2 separate regions of the Homo sapiens genome follow, and region 1 is linked to region 2. The links are contacts of gene promoters, found by promoter capture Hi-C in blood cells and fetal thymus (Javierre and others, 2016). All regions are on one chromosome and are shown on one strand. Each heading gives the region's core, a stretch centred on a gene start or on the middle of the fragment in contact. The rest is flanking DNA. Distances are from core to core; before and after follow the strand shown.

Region 1 (3,091 bases), core at 79-2,578, 560 kb after region 2:
ATTTGGTTCTTGCTGCCATCGTTTCCTTACCAGAATGGCACCAATTTCTCCTAAGACGTATTCATGTCTATCACATTTGTCTTTGCCAGGAACTTTCAGGACCAGCTTCGAATGGAGGGATCAGCCAGACAAACACCTATGACGCCCAGTATGAGAGGTGATTGACTGACGTGACTCTGGAATAAACCAGGGTGAACACAGGCCTGGACACAGGCGAGCAGACGCGTGGCACTGTGCATTTGGTCCTCAGGCAGATGTACGGTGCCACAAACTGGCAGGAAAGACTAGAAAAAGTAGGCCAGGAGCGGTGGCTCACGCCTATAATCCCAGCATTTTGGGAGGCCGAGGCAGGCGGATCACGAGGTCAGAAGATTGAGACCATCCTGGCTAACACGGTGAAACCCTGTCTCTCCTAAAAAAAATACAAAAAATTAGCCGGGCATGGTGCCAGGCACCTGTAGTCTCAGCTACTCGGGAGGCTGAGGCAGGAGAATGGCAAACCCAGGAGGCGGAGCTTGCAGTGAGCCGAGATCGCGCCACTGCACTCCAGCCTGGGCGATAGAGCGAGACTCCGTCTCAAAAAAAAAAAAGACTAAAGTGTTGGCTCTCTTGCTTCCTCTTGTGGCAGTTACTTATAATAACTCTAGACTCTTGATAGCAAGTTTCCAGGAATGGGTGATAGAATTGCTGACTGGTTCACAGGTCAGTGCCATTGGGGGAAACGTACTGAGTCAGTTTTTTCTGATTGGTTTGATCTTCTATGAATGATGTATGATCACAGGGCCTAGATGTCCTCAGTGGGAAGTTTATATAATTGTAAAGATAAGGAAGTTTGGAGGAACAGCTCCAGAGATTACGGGAAAAACCGCGAGGATTCATTTTACGAAGACTTATACTTAAGGTGTCTATGAGAGCCTGTTGATGAAGAACCTGAGTTTTGCTTTAAAACAGATCCAAGTTCAATTCCCAGCCCTATCACTTACTGGTTGGGTGGTCTTGGGCAAGATTGTGGGGTTTCTCACCCGTATACAACACCTACACCGCCAGTTATGTGGGATTAATTGGCATCATGCATATTAAATGCCTGGCACAGTGTGCCCTTGGTAAGCGGTTAAGAAATGTAGTTACTGCTGCCACCATGATGATGATAGTAGTGACTCTCCCTTTTTATCTGTTTTCCAACCCAGGGCCATCCAGGAGAGCCTCCTCACCAGCACAGAAGGCCTGTGCCCCAGCGCCCTGAGCGAGACAAGCCGTTTTGATAATGACTTGCAGCTAGCCATGGAGCTCTCTGCCAAAGAGCTGGAGGAATGGGAGCTCCGGCTCCAGGAGGAAGAGGCTGAGCTCCAGCAAGTCTTACAGCTGTCACTCACTGACAAATAGACCTTTCAGCCTGTGAGCCTCTGCACAAAGCAGAGGCTGTGGGCTGTCACAGATGCTGTGTCAACCAGGGCCCTAGGGCTAAGGGCCTGCACCTTGCGTGCATGCAGCAGGCAACAACTGCCCCTTCTTTATGCAGAGGTGCAGAACCAGGGACTCCTGGGCCCATCCAGGCTGCTCCCTGGGGTGGAGAAGGGACCAGGGATTGCAGGCCCCATCTCCAGGCTAAGGGGAGGAGAGCATCATCACTTTCCATTAGCTGTATTGGCTTGCAGGTCACATTTTTACTACCAGCTTTAGACAAAACCCCAATCCCCGCAGGTTTGTAGATAAATTTTTATCAAGGAGTGATAACAAGACAAGTTATTGCAGAGTCAGGGTGCTTTTATATATAAGAGCAGCAGCCGCCTTTGTAAAGTGTGATCTATGAGAATTGGAGACACTTCTTTACTGTTCACCAAAGAAATGGGTAATCTGTGCTGATCTCCTTATTTTTACCTTTTTACAGGGTTTCTAGGACATTGTCATTATTCTTCCTCCATCTATCTGATTCCATTCCTTCCACACCCAGCTAAAGTTAGAGGAGATACATATAGAATCTATTTTAGATTATTGTTAACTATTTGCATCAAATTAAGATACACAAATGGCCATGGATGTTGCCTTAGCCTTAAACATTACTAATAGTTTCACATCACCTCACTGCACGCATCGAAGGATCTGATTTGAATTTGTAAAGGCAATTCTTTTGAGAGCAGGATTCTCCAGGCTAAATCAAAGGCAGCTAATCCTGTCCCTGAAGGAGCAGCTAGGGGAACCTGAGGCTTGTTCTTGAAGTGGGCAAGCTGGCCAAAATATTGGAACACACAGAACCAAACCAGGTGTGTTCTACACCTGCATGAGTGAAGGATTTCCACGTAGACACCTAGGAAGAGCCCGCATGCCCTAGACTCACTCCAGAGGAAGGATTGATTTGCAACCAGAAAGGGAGCTGAAAACCACGGAGCTCCATGGCTCTTCATTCAAAAGGGAAAATAATGATTCCACGTTGCTTTTTAGAGTTCAAATCAACATCTTTCTGGATAAATCTATTTTTTAACAATCTTTTTATTATTTGTAAAAGATATAAAAACAACTCCCATCAGTAGCAATACAAGGTTATACATTTTAACCAGATTTTCTCAGGCCTTTTTTGGATACCTTTAGTAGTTAACTCTCTTTTGTCAAACCCTCTTGTATATAACCATCGCACAACATACAGAACCCTGGGGAATACAGCCAAGGGCACTGCTCACTGTGGCCCGTGTATTCATTCCCACAGGCTGCACTGAAATAACCTGGTAAACAACACCCTCCTCCATTTTGCGTCTATTTCTTCTATTGTGCTTCTTTGGGGATAGGAAGAGAAACATAACTACTGTTCCAGGTAACGTCTGTATCATACAGTTAGTGTTGCCAGTGAAACGTTCCCAGATACAAAGAATTGTGCTTTTAATTCCATTTCACAATCTGTTTTGTTTTTTTTTTTTGTCATTGTCTGACCAAAATTCCTTCTGCACATGAGGCCAGTATAGGCAACGTCACATTTGTTTGTTTCAAATATGCAGTGTGGTATTTTGTTTACTTTGCATTTACCGTGAGCAAAGATACTTCTTGGAATGGCTGCAGTGAGGCCGTGTCATTGGCTCACAAAAGTGACTCATAGGTAATT
Region 2 (2,837 bases), core at 111-2,610:
TTTCTCTCAATGTTCTAGTGAGAAAGATGTTTATCATCAACCCCACTTTTTTGGGGAGAAAACTAGGAATCACACCTATAAGAGCCCTCTGACTCCCAACTCCTTTGCCCCTTTCATTACACAGTCCAAATCAAGAAATCATTAGTCTAATCCCTTGCAGGGCTTGTTAAAACCGATAGATGGGCTCCACCCCAAGAATGTCTGATTCAGTAGTCTCTGACAGGGCTTGAAATTTCAGCCATTTTGAATAAGTTACCAGGTGTTGCTGCTGGTGGGACCAGAGTTTGAGAACCACTGGTTTATGCTGCCTTCTTCCCATCCGCTGGTCCTTATTTTGCACAAAATGGAGCGGACTAGTCAACGTCAGCTACAGGATAACTGACTTTTCTTCAGCAGCGTCACTGGGACTGATTTTCCCTTAAGACTGCACTTTCCAGGGACGTGACAAACAAGCAAGCAAGTAGAAAGAAGATCTGGGCCAATCTTTGGTCATCTCTACCCAGGGACAATGAGCTACTCAGGGAACAGACCCTTGAGGATCCCAAGCAGACAAACCCCACAGCTGAGAGACAGATCTTGAAACATCCTCCGCTCCTTAGGCGTGGTCACCTCTGGCCTCAATGGAAGTTACAGATAGGTACCCAGGCGCCAGCTGAGGCACTGAACTCCGTGGCGCAGGTATCCTAACCTCAGGCCCCTGGCATCTCTCCCCAGGATTCCAAGCACTGAACGCACATCAGCCTGCTGGGCTCTCTCGATTTCTTTCCCTCACTGGGCCGTGTGTTCAGACGCACCTGGGAGCCCCTTCCCCACTTCCTGGAAACTCAGCGACTCCAGCCACAACCTCCAAAACGCCAAACGCTCCGCCCCAAGGAATCCTACCTCACCTTCTCATAACCTGCCCATTCATTCTCCTTCATAATCCTCCAAATCCTCATTTTCCACCCCCAAATGTCCGTTTTCAATTGATATCTCTTTGTTCTCCTCGCAATCACCAACTCCCATCTCCAACCAGCACTCAGGACTCACTTGGAGACACCCCTTCCTCACGCACACACGTATCTACTCCGCAAGCCCAAATGTGCTTCCCGGATTCCTAACCGCCAGGGAGCCTCCCTACCACCACCCCCGCCCCTAATTCTCCACCCAAAGCCCTTCCCCCACCCCGGGCCTTTCCCCTAACCAATCCCCCAAATGCCTCTCCACTATCGTGACTGCCCCTCATCACACCCCCTCCTCTCGGTCCCTTCTTATACTCTGCTGCTGCCCAGCTCCCTCGGCCGCCCTCAACCCCTAGTCCATGGGCACCGCCCTCCCTACCATGAAAAGTCGGAGGACGCAGGAGTCTCCAAACCCGGACTGAGAGAGGCAGGAAACACCCAGCTCACGCCAGCCGGGGGCGGAGGCGGGGCCGGAGCGATAACTTCCGCTGTCCGCACCCCACTTCCGCCCCGCAGAGGGCAACGTCTTAAGCCGTCCGTTGTGCGCCTAGGGGCCAGTTTTCTTTCCAGCCTCCCCGGCCGGAGTGGGTTCCAGCTTTTCTCGGCTGGGGAGGGCATTTATCCCACCTCCGCTATTTCAGCTGCCAGAGGGGAGGCAAGGTGTGGGGAAGTTTTCCTTCCCGGGCGAAGAAGCTCTGCGGAACTGTCATTTTCCGGAACTGGATGCTTGCTTCCTGGCGGGGTTCTGAAAGCGAACACCGCGGGGCAAGATGGCGGTAGTGCGTCGGCTGCTGCCCCGGGTCTGGCAGAACTCGGGTGTTTTGGGCTGAGACAGTGGCAGCTGCGGCCCCGACCCCAAGTGCGGGGACCTCCGGCGAATAAAGGTCGGCCTGCGGGTAGGCCGGTAGGGCCTGCGGTCCGGCCTGCGGGAGAACTGGGTCGTCAGTCCTCCGAGTGGTGGGGCTGGGGACTTTGAGGGAGTTGGCTCTAGGGCACAGTCCCTGCCTGGCCAGGTCGGAGGAACAAGTGCTGGGATCTGGCGTGTGTGCTCCAGGGGCTCTTTCCGCGGCCCTTTCCACCTCTTTTCACTTTGGGGACGGTAGGCCTTTATAAACGGACTAATGCTGGGTGATTTGTTCCTGTGGTTGTTGATGCCGAGGAAAGACTCTGGGCCCCAGGACTCACCTAAACTGGAGTTCGAATACTGTTCGCTCGCTGTGTGACCTTGGGTGAGTTCCCTCACCTCTCTGAGCCTCAGTTTCCTTCTGTGTAAATGGAGTAATTAGCAGGTTTCACAGAGGGTGTGAATACGTTTTAGTACCGTGCCTGACACCTAGTTCTGAATAAAGAAAAACTTGATCGTAATTTAACTCCAGCTTAGCCCCCACAGGCAATCTTGCACTCTCAACTTCTCTTTGCTTGGCCATTCTGTGAACGGGGGAGCCCTGGATCTTGTTTGTTTTACTTAGTGATAAATAACTGTTTTGGATATACATGGATTCAGATTCAAAAGCATCCACCTTAGATAGGCTGTAGCTTTCAATAAATAGTAGCTGTTAATATGAATAGTCTCTTTAAGTCGTGTTTCCTATTCTTTAAATAAAAATTAGATTATTGAGGCTGGCCACGGTGGCTCACGCCTGTAATCCTAGCACTTTGGGAGGCCGAGGCGGGCGGATCACCTGAGGTCAGAAGTTCAAGACCAGCGTGGCCAACATGGTGAAACCGCATCTCTACTAAAAATACAAAAATTAGCCGGGCGTGGTGGCGGGCGCCTTTAATCCCAGCGACTTGGGAGGCTGAAGCAGGAGAATCACTTGAACCTGGGAGGCGGAGGTTGCAGTGAGCAGAGTTCGCGCCGCTGCACTCCAGCCTGGGCAACAAAGTGAGACTCCG

What was found. The method cuts DNA at HindIII sites, captures the fragments that hold promoters and counts their contacts. A CHiCAGO score of 5 or more calls a contact.
Region 1: a fragment that was not itself captured here is called in contact with the fragment with the promoter of KCTD10 in region 2 in 1 of 17 cell types (neutrophils); the score reaches 6.6 in neutrophils.

What each region holds. Positions count from the first base shown.
Region 1 is chr12:110,036,172-110,039,262 of GRCh38, forward strand. ANKRD13A (ankyrin repeat domain 13A) reads left to right here. Exons shown (of 15, transcript NM_033121.2): 14 at 90-157; 15 at 1,188-3,091. The coding sequence ends at 1,383. Among named protein-coding and RNA genes, the nearest start is that of C12orf76, 11 kb to the right of the region's middle. The HindIII fragment of the contact is 5,067 bases long and covers 1-3,091 here.
Region 2 is chr12:109,475,940-109,478,776 of GRCh38, forward strand. It overlaps KCTD10 (potassium channel tetramerization domain containing 10), which reads right to left and starts at 1,361. Exons shown (of 7, transcript NM_031954.5): 1 at 1,321-1,361. The coding sequence starts at 1,323. It overlaps UBE3B (ubiquitin protein ligase E3B), which reads left to right and starts at 1,695. Exons shown (of 28, transcript NM_130466.4): 1 at 1,695-2,170. RefSeq lists enhancers at 274-1,009, 1,518-1,607. The HindIII fragment of the contact is 6,971 bases long and covers 1-2,837 here.